3 separate regions of the Homo sapiens genome follow, and all the other regions are linked to region 1. Evidence: promoter capture Hi-C in human tissues and cell types (Jung and others, 2019). All regions are on one chromosome and are shown on one strand. Each heading gives the region's core, a stretch centred on a gene start or on the middle of the fragment in contact. The rest is flanking DNA. Distances are from core to core; before and after follow the strand shown.

Evidence for each region. The method cuts DNA at HindIII sites, captures the fragments that hold promoters and counts their contacts. A contact is called where the count stands out against the background at its distance.
Region 2: a fragment that was not itself captured here is called in contact with the fragment with the promoter of ANKRD12 in region 1 in 1 of the 25 tissues and cell types used here (heart left ventricle).
Region 3: a contact is called between a fragment that was not itself captured here and the fragment with the promoter of ANKRD12 in region 1, in 1 of the 25 tissues and cell types used here (dorsolateral prefrontal cortex).

What each region holds. Positions count from the first base shown.
Region 1 is chr18:9,135,310-9,138,538 of GRCh38, forward strand. ANKRD12 (ankyrin repeat domain 12) reads left to right here and starts at 1,472. Exons shown (of 13, transcript NM_015208.5): 1 at 1,472-1,656. It overlaps NDUFV2-AS1 (NDUFV2 antisense RNA 1), which reads right to left and starts at 1,411. Exons shown (of 3, transcript NR_110772.1): 1 at 1,055-1,411. RefSeq lists silencers at 574-747, 750-839, 1,190-1,539, 1,750-2,149, 2,190-2,239 and enhancers at 1,030-1,079, 1,570-1,619. The HindIII fragment of the contact is 7,523 bases long and covers 1-1,832 here.
Region 2 is chr18:8,675,756-8,678,984 of GRCh38, forward strand. No RefSeq gene overlaps it. Among named protein-coding and RNA genes, the nearest start is that of MTCL1, 28 kb to the right of the region's middle. The HindIII fragment of the contact is 6,680 bases long and covers 1-3,229 here.
Region 3 is chr18:8,709,969-8,713,197 of GRCh38, forward strand. The region is part of intron 1 of MTCL1 (microtubule crosslinking factor 1); the gene reads left to right. Among named protein-coding and RNA genes, the nearest start is that of GACAT2, 4.0 kb to the left of the region's middle. The HindIII fragment of the contact is 3,424 bases long and covers 1-3,229 here.

The DNA of each region.
Region 1 (3,229 bases), core at 222-2,721:
ATATTTTTTTAGAGACAGGGTCTTACTATGTTGCCTGGCTGGTCTCAAACTCCTGGGCTCAAGCCATCTGCCCGCCTGAGCCTCCCAAATTGCTGGGATTACAGGCGTGAGCCACTGCGCTCGGCTATAACGATTATTTTTAAGTATGTCTTTAAGATTTTTTTTTTAATTGAGAGAAGGTAAACAACAGTTAATTTTCCAAGTGGCACAAAAAAGTAACAATGAAAATGTCCTACCCTGGAGCTCTCCTGACTTTCTCATAGGCGACTGTTTTTTTCTTTGTATTTCACATCATAAATAACCAAGTTAAATGTAACACTATTCCACCTCTAGCCATAAGGTGCTCTTTTTCTAGTCTTGTTGACCCTAAAGATTTGTAGGTGGGAGAAATCAGGAACCCAGGAAAGGAAAAACTCCTGATCTTTAATGCAGGTTTATGCTTTACATAGTAATTTGATGGGACCTCGCCGTCCCTGTCAGGTCTGAATGTCACTTCATCTGCTGTGATCACACCTGAACCCTCAGTTCATCAAGACGTTAAAGGACAGTGTAACATAAACTTGTAACTGCATGCACTAAGTCATAAACAGACGCTGTTGTTGCAGATTAACCTCTACGTAAATAACGCGCCCAGAAGGGAGTGAGTACACGCTGCTGCCACGCTGCGACGGTCAATTTTCCTCCGGCACCCTTCCTAGTACCTGAGCAGCTCCCTCTCAAATCCCCAACACTACGTGTGGGAGGGTGCACTGAATTCCTCTTTAAAAAGGCCACTGGAAGGCGTGGCTGGGAGGGGACGCGCTCTAGACCCCCTGGTGCCAGGGCAGGTGCACGCTACCGCGCTTTCGGGGCGGGGCCCAGGGCCCCACCTGAGGCGGGGGGCCGCGGGCTCTGGGCGTAGGTGCAGCTTCTCCGGCCTGGTGCGGGGCCAGACGGCCGCCGCCGGCTTAGCGGGGGAACTTCGCCTAGTCCTCGGGCTGCGGTCGCAGCGTCATTTTGCCTGAGTTGGATCACGCTCGTCCACCCACCCCGTGTAAAAATAACAGGTGAATACCCTATGTGGGGGTCCTCATCGCCGCCATTTCCAGAAGCTTCCAGTCACAGCCACTGCCACGGTCGCCACAAATGCTACTGCAGAGCCCGCTTGCCCAGCAGCGTCACCGGCGCCTGCCCTGCCTCTTCGCCCAGCCTTTGATTCCCCCTCCTTTGTCGGATAGTGTCTGCGGCGGGGAGGCGGTGACACTAGTCCGAGTGGGGCGTGGAGACCGACCAGCACGAAGGGCGGAGTTCCGGCCCGCACCCCTCCGCCGCCTGCCGCTTGGTACGTCCCGCTTCCCCGCCCTGCGGCTCGCGGAGCCTGGCTGAGCAGCAGGAGGGGCGGGCGCCGGGGGGCGGGGCGGTCACGCCGCCCGTCCCGTGCCCGCGGTAGTCACGTGTCCGCGGGTGTCACGTGCTCGCGTCGCAGCCAATCGCGGGGCGACGCTGTCCTGGGAGCGAGGAGGCTGTGGTGAGAGACGGACCGAGACCGGAGATGTTTTCAAGCCCGGCTCCGGCGGCTTTACAGGCGGCTGCAGCGGCGACGAAGACAACGACAGCGACGGCTACGCCGAAGCACTCGTTCCGGGGGTGAAGCCTCCTGCGCCGGCCTTGCCTCGGGTCCGTACGGGTGAGGGGGGCGTGGCGACAGGAAAGGAGGAAGGAGGGGCGCGGTTTCGAGCTTGTCCCCGGCGCCAGGGAGGAGATCCCCTCAGTTCTGCGCTGCTCCCGTTCCCCCTCCCCAGAGCAAGGTAGGGGACGCGCCCTGCCCGCCCCCCCCGGTCCCGACGCGCCGCCCGCCCAGCCTGGCCCGAGCCGTAGCTCGCCTGACAGTGACAGGCCGTTAGTGCCCCCCGGCGCGGGTCCGCCGGGGCCCCGCCCGCCGCCGCCCCTCCCGGCGTCGCGAGGAGCCGCGGCGCAGGTGGGAGCCGCCAACTGGGCGGGGGCGCTGCGCGGGGCGGGGCGGGGGCCGGGCGGAGGGCCGCGAGCTGGCCTCGTCGCGGGCGCCCCTCACCGCGGCTGGCGGGGCTGGGCTGCCGCCGCCTCCCGGAACATGGCGGGGCCGGAGGAGCGTGTGCGTGCGAGTGTGAGTGTGCGCGGCCGAGAGGGCGCCGCTGGCGTGCGGCGGTCGGACCCGCGGGGGCGGGGGCGCGCCCGGCCCGCCGCGCGTTCCCGCCGCCAGCCGCCGAGCGTGCGCCGACGCCGGGGAGTCTGCCGCGGCCGCTCGGGCCGGGAGCGTCGGAGGTACCCGGGTCCTGGGAGAGGTGGATGAAATCAAGAAGGGGAAATTGCTGCTTTAGTAGTGTCCGGGGAAAGAGCAGCCACTCTACAGTTCTGTCTTAAATGCCAGTGTAAAATAACCTTGCCGCATTGGACAGGCAGTTCCCGTCATCGTTTTTCAAGTACCCACTTGTGATGCTTCAAGACCCCTGGAGCACGTCAGGTTCTTAGATCTCGTTTTGAGGAGTGATGTGGAGTGACGCATCCTTACAGATCCCAAAGCGTTGAATAAACGGTTGTACAAAGAGGTATGCGAAGCTTAGCTGACAGCTGTTTTAGTAATAACAGTAAGACGCTGTCTGGGATAGGAAGTTACTGTTGCACTCGTTGAAACCTTAGGAAACATTTAAAGCAGTGTAGTCACCGGGATTGTAATTTCCACTGGACACCCGTGGTTAAACTGCGAACTAAGGTGAAGTGTGTTGCAGATCCAGTGCTGTGTATGTAATGGTTCGGAATTACCTCTAATCCTAAAGTTGAAATGAGCCTGCATCTGCAGTCATGTATTTCGTTTTCATTTTAGAATGGTTTATGTAAATTATAAAGAAAGGCTAGTGAAATAGCTATTTTATCGTAAATTAACTGTGTATTAAAAACATATGCACAGCCGGGCGCGGTGGCTCATGCCTATAATCCCAGCACTTTGGGAGGCCGACGTGGGTAGATCACCTGAGGTCAGGAGTTCGAGACCAGCCTGACCAATATAGTGAAACCCCCGTCTCTACTAAATATACAAAATTAGCCAGGCGTGGTGGCGCATGTCTGTAATCCCAGCTACTTGGGAAGCCGAGGCAGGGGAATCGCTTGAACCCGGGCGGCAGAGGTTGCAGTGAGCCGAGATCGTGCCACTGCACTCCAGCCTGGGCCACAAGAGCGAAACTCCGTCGCAAAAACATACCAAAACAAACAAACA
Region 2 (3,229 bases), core at 408-2,907, 460 kb before region 1:
GAACTTAACAGGGCACTGCAGAGCAGTCTTTTCTAAGTTTTGCAGAAATGTCTTCCACCTCCTTATACTTTTTCACATAAAGATGGCACTCCTATACATTTGGAGAAAACATTTTTTACATTGTTTGCCTGTCTGTAGCTCTTGGCCTATACAACATTCCCTGAGCATCAGAAGAGTTACCAGAGAAAACTTAAAATACGCCAACATTTGGCCCCTGTCCCAAGACACTGATTTAATCTGATGGAGTGGGGGCCAGGCATCTGTATTCTGGGTGATTCTAACGGGCAGCCAGGGCGCGGGACCCATGGGACTCTGCACCACCTGACCTTCCCGCTGGCTCAGGAGTTCCAGCCAATTCTATTTTTCCCCTGGAAATGTGGAAATTGGGGGATGATAGTTCCTTCTTGGAAATGTGGAGATGGGAGAGACTGAGCCAGTGGCTGGAGGGTGGGTAGCCACGACTGATTTGTATGAGTTGGCATCATAGGCAATAGCAGCTATGCGAGCAGAGCAGAGGCTCCTGGGCAAAGGCGGAGGGGCAGTGAGATGCTGCCAGGGAGTGAGCTCAGCTCAGACGCCCTCCAACCCCTTGGAACAACAGCATGCAGGAGCCGACCCTCCGCTCCTTGAAATGAGGCTAACTCTTTCAAATTCAGAAGTTAGGGCTTTCCTCCATTGAAAATAAGGGGGAGATTAAAAAGCAGGAAACAGCCCTGGAAGACCCCTCGAGAGGAATCGGCTCAGGTCTGTGCCTCATGACAGAGTCCTTAATCTGGGGTCTGAGCTTCTGGGTCTCTATGGTTGCTCGGGTAGAGTTCTATGGGCATTTGTACATACGTGCATTTTATAGAGGAGAAAGTCTATATGTTTTATTCTGAAAAGGGCCCATGAACCTTATAATTAAAAACAACTGCTCTATGAGAACAGAAAATTTTAAGAACGTCTCTCCTTCTAAACCTATGTAGGAATTTAAATGTTTTAGAAAACAAATACTGCGTTAATATTACAGAGAAAGGCAGAGAGAGAGATCATCAGTACGTTCAGTGCAAATTCTAAACGTATGTATATTTTGTGTGTATGTGTGTATTTATTGGAACTGAGGCTGGTTTTACAATATATCTAGGAGAATAATTCCATATGTTGGAGGATAGTAACTCTCATATAATTTGATGGGAGTAGATTGTGGTACAGCCATCATTTTGGGAAACTTCTTTTGTATTATCTACTAAAATTATAGCTAATAGAACTGCATGCACACGTGAATCAGCATTTTTTTATTTTTATTTTTTGAGATGGAGTCTCACTCTGTCACCCAGGCTAGAGTACAATGGCGTGATCTTGGCTCACTGCAACCTCTGCCTCCTGGGTTCAAGTGATTCTCCTGTCTCAGCCTCCTAAGTTGCTGGGACTACAGGCGTGCACCACAGTGCCCAGCTAATTTTTGTATTTTTAGTAGAGATAGGGTTTCGCCATGTTGGTCAGGCTGGTCTCGAACTCCAGACTTCAGGTGATCCAACCGCCTTGGCATCCCAAAGTGCTGGGATTAGAGGCGTGAGCCACCATGCCCAGCCCCACAGTAGCATTTTTAAATTGACAAGTAATAGTTGTCTATATTTATTGGGGCAGCATTATTAATAGCCCCCAAATGCAAGCAATTGAACAGTGGAATGGATAAATTGTGGCAGTTGCAATGGAACTCTATACAGCAATGAAAAAGAATGAAATAGAGCTATATAAAACAATATGTGTGTATGAAACTCATAAACGTAATACTGAGCAAAAGAAACAAGACACAAAAGAAAAAAACTAAACTATTTTATTTCTGTAACGCTCAAGACAGGCAAACCTAACCTATGGCGCTGGAGGTCAGGAGAGTGGCCACTCTAGCAGAGGCACAAGGAGGCTTCTGGGGTGCTAGTGATGTTCTATTGCTTGGTGATACTTGGGTGTGTGCCCTTTGTGGTAATTCATCAAGTTGTACACTTACAGCTTATATACTTTTAGTTCTCAATATTATGCACTTTAAAAATGTTATGCTTATTATCTGCAAACACATGCATACTGCATTACATTTAAATAATGAAGGACTTATATGCACAATATATAAGGAATTGCCACAGATATAAAATGTAGAAAACTGGCAAAATAAGCAAAAAGGGGTTTCACAAAAGAGTGATGAGCAGTCAAGCGGGTCCCAAACCGCAGCAGTGGGAGCTGCCAGGCTGACTTGCTACCTTTCCATAGATTTGGCCTGTAAGACAACCATGATCCGTATGGATGCAGACAACTTATTTCAAATTAGTTCCTTTTCCTCCCAATCCCACGGGGGCTCTGTGGAGGCAGGCGTCGGGGAGGCTGCACAGACAGGGGATCAGTGCACAGCTGAGGACCCCTGAGCCTAGGAGACCACCAGTCTCAGAAGGGGCTGCTGGCGGCCTAGTGACTCTCCTCTCCAGAGACATTGTCATTGTCACCCTGGAGTGCAAGCAAGTCTCTAGGGATAATTTTTGCTGTCTCTTTTTAATTTAAAAATAAATTATGAGCTGGGCATGGTGGCTCACGCCTGTAATCCCAGGACTTTGAGAGGCCGAGGCTGGCGGATCACTTGAGGTCAGGAGTTTGAGACCAGCCTGGCCAACATGGCGAAACCCCGTCTCTACTAAAAATACAAAAAATTAGCTGGGCGTGGAGGTGGGCGCCTGCAGTCCCAGCTAGTCAGAAGACTGAGGCAGGAGAATCGCTTGAACCTGGGAGGCAGAAGTTGCAGTGAGCTGAGATTGCACTACTGTACTCTAGCCTGGGCAACAGAGCAAGACTCCGTCTCTAAATAAATATAAAATAAAATAAATTATGAATTTTTGTCTTTTTTTCATATACTCAGACTAAATAAAGGCATTTTTACTGGTGCATTCCTCAACTGACTTTTCTTCTATGTGTTTGTAATCTGTAGTAGAAAAGATAACCCTGCTCACACTGTTCTTTCATTTCTGAGCTAAGGAAATTTGTAATGCTGCACATTTTCACTTGTTAATTAACTGTCTCATCTTTGGGTGGTTACATTTTAATCCAGGTGTTAGTGATAAAGTTCCCAACTTTAATAAGGTTAAGAGAGTACACTTTCCCCCTTATAAATGATAAATATCTTACCAGGTCCTCCAGCTAATATTAGAGTGTGAAATGTTTCCTTAAATTGATGGTTGACCAAACTTCATTTAGTTAGGAAAAGAAT
Region 3 (3,229 bases), core at 357-2,856, 430 kb before region 1:
AGCTGGGATTACAAGTGCCCGCCACCACGCCCAGCTAGTTTTTGAATTTTTAGTAGAGACAGGGTTTCACCATGTTGGCCAGGCTGGTCTTGAACTCCTGACTTCAGGTGATCTGCCCGCCTCGGCTTCCCAAAGTGCTGGGATTACAGGCATGAGCCACCGCGCCCGGCCTGGCCTGTATTTTTTTAAATAGTCAGTGTCAACAGAGAAGCGGACACCTTGTGTTGTGCTGTAACAGAGCAAATTTGGTCGTCCCTGACTCTGCTTTCTGTTCCTTCTCCACCTTCATCAAATGGTGCCTGGGTGACTAGGTGAAAAATGCAAAATCAATCCAGGTAGCTGGCTTTTGTGTGAAAACACAGACAGAAAAGCACTCTTGTTGTCCTTTGACCTCTGATAAACTCAAATACATTTGGAAGTATTCAGAAATTCAGGTGAGCACTTCAGTTATCCAAAGGCCTGGGCTTCTCATAAAACCCAGGCACTTTCTTTTTTTTTTTTTTTTTTTTTCTCTTTAATTATGGTAAATATTTAATGTTTCCTTATAAAATAATTACAGCCTTAATAGAAACAAAACTGTTGAAAGTGTACCTGGATGACAATAATGGTTAAATATACACTTTAATAATTTAAAGTGATGAGTTTTTTTTTTTCACAAAAGTTTAAGGTGGTAATGAAATCATTGGAATCCCTTTTACCAAAGTGAATTTTAAAAATTACATTTTCCCTCTTGCAATCATGTTTGTAGCATAAAGGAGCAATAAATGGGGGCAGGGAGTAAAGCTTGGGAACTAGTCTATGTTAGGCTTGAGTAGTCTAGGGCAATGTCTGATAAAGGAGGGGTTTGAATTTTGGTATGGAAGGCTTTCTTTTTTTTTTTTTTTTTTTTAATCTGTTTTCTTTTTTCTTTTTTTTTTTACTTTTTTTTTTTTTATTATACTTTAAGTTTTAGGGTACATGTGCACATTGTGCAGGTTAGTTACATATGTATACATGTGCCATGCTGGTGTGCTGCACCCACTAACTCGTCATCTAGCATTAGGTATATCTCCCAATGCTATCCCTCCCCACTCCCCCTACTCCTCGACAGTCCCCAGAGTGTGATATTCCCCTTCCTGTGTCCATGTGATCTCATTGTTCAATTCCCACCTATGAGTGAGAATATGCGGTGTTTGGTTTTTTGTTCTTGTGATAGTTTACTGAGAATGATGATTTCCAGTTTCATCCATGTCCCTACAAAGGACATGAACTCATCATTTTTTATGGCTGCATAGTATTCCATGGTGTATATGTGCCACATTTTCTTAATCCAGTCTATCATTGTTGGACATTTGGGTTGGTTCCAAGTCTTTGCTATTGTGAATAATGCCGCAATAAACATACGTGTGCATGTGTCTTTATAGCAGCATGATTTCTAGTCCTTTGGGTATATACCCAGTAATGGGATGGCTGGGTCAAATGGTATTTCTAGTTCTAGATCCCTGAGGAATCGCCACACTGACTTCCACAATGGTTGAACTAGTTTACAGTCCCACCAACAGTGTAAAAGTGTTCCTATTTCTCCACATCCTCTCCAGCACCTGTTGTTTCCTGACTTTTTAATGATTGCCATTCTAACTGATGTGAGATGATATCTCATAGTGGTTTTGATTTGCATTTCTCTGATGGCCAGTGATGGTGAGCATTTTTTCATGTGTTTTTTGGCTGCATAAATGTCTTCTTTTGAGAAGTGTCTGTTCATGTCCTTCGCCCACTTTTTGATGGGGTTGTTTGTTTTTTTCTTGTAAATTTGTTTGAGTTCATTGTAGATTCTGGATATTAGCCCTTTGTCAGATGAGTAGGTTGCAAAAATTTTCTCCCATGTTGTAGGTTGAACCCAGGCACTTTCTTAATGCTGAGGACTTTGGTAAAGCGCTGGTGTGTTCCTTCCCTGCCAGGCTGCCAAGACTGTGTTTTGCTCGAGTGCTCGGAGACAGTCAGACAAGCCGGAGTGCTCGTTGTCAACATATTAATTATGTTCTCTGTTTCCACAGGCTTTTCAGGAGGATTTAATCAGTTGGCATTTATGAGCCTATTTTGAAAATGCTTTTAGCAGCCATAACCCCACACCTCCCCCACCCCCAAATAGTGTCCTCTTGCCATGCTGACCTCCTGCAGGGTGGGTGAGGATTGGGGTGGGAAGAGCTGTTTCTTTTTGCTTTGCTTTGCTTTCTCAGTTATTTCATAGGAAATATTTTTCTGTTAAAAGAAAACAAGTTGGTGCTAGATACAAGGGCAGAGAAAATTGGCTTCTTGGAGAGGAATGATTTCCTAAGGGAGAGGTTGAGTTTTGGTTTTATAGGTTGCAGTGTCTCACTGCTGATCCAAGCTTACCATCCTGCTTCTCATTGGAGTTAGCCTTTTGAGTTTCAGGCCCTGACCTGGTTTTTGACATTTGGCAGCTGGGCTGCCCAGATGCCGGGTGCTCAGTGTGGCCTGGGGGTGGAGGGGCACTTGGAGAGGAGCGCAAGCAGTGCTCTGTAGCTGAGGTGTCTCAGCGCCTCCTTGCTCCCCGCCTCCTCCTCCTTTCTCTTTCAGAAGGGTTAACATGGACAGTATTCCCCATTCTTTCCTGACATTCGCTGTCCATACCCACTCTGTATTCAGCCACTGAAAGAGTGGCTATGATCATTTTCAGTGGCAGTTAATGTAGACAAGGGCTGCGGCCACCAGCTGCTGGCTGGACCATCACCTGGTAGACAGTGGGAGTCGCCCTGCACCTCCTTAGTTACAGCTGGGACTCTTGGAGAACATTTCCCTTGTCTGGAGGGAAATGAGGTGGATTATTCGTATGTTACAAAAGACAGTAGTTTCTGTCTGCCCAGAAGATAGAATTATTGCAGCAGTAGCCAGAGGACTCCTTCTACCATCCAAACTGGGTCTATTTAAAGAGGAGGTGCTAAAATAGAGATAGTTACTGATTTTGGGTATTTAAAAGAGATTAAGATTTTCATATAGTTATTAACATGATTAAGAGTTTTCATCACTTATACTAAGAAGCCATGGATTTGACTTTTATTATATATTCATGGATAAAACTATCCTTTTAGAGGTTTTCATTAAAACATATAATTTTAATCTTGGTTTACTCTAGTGCACACCTGGTACCTCATTATTCCTCTAATTTGAGATACATGATAAGGCTTGATTTGTCAGCCACAGGCAAAGGGGAATAGTCGACTGGACTTCA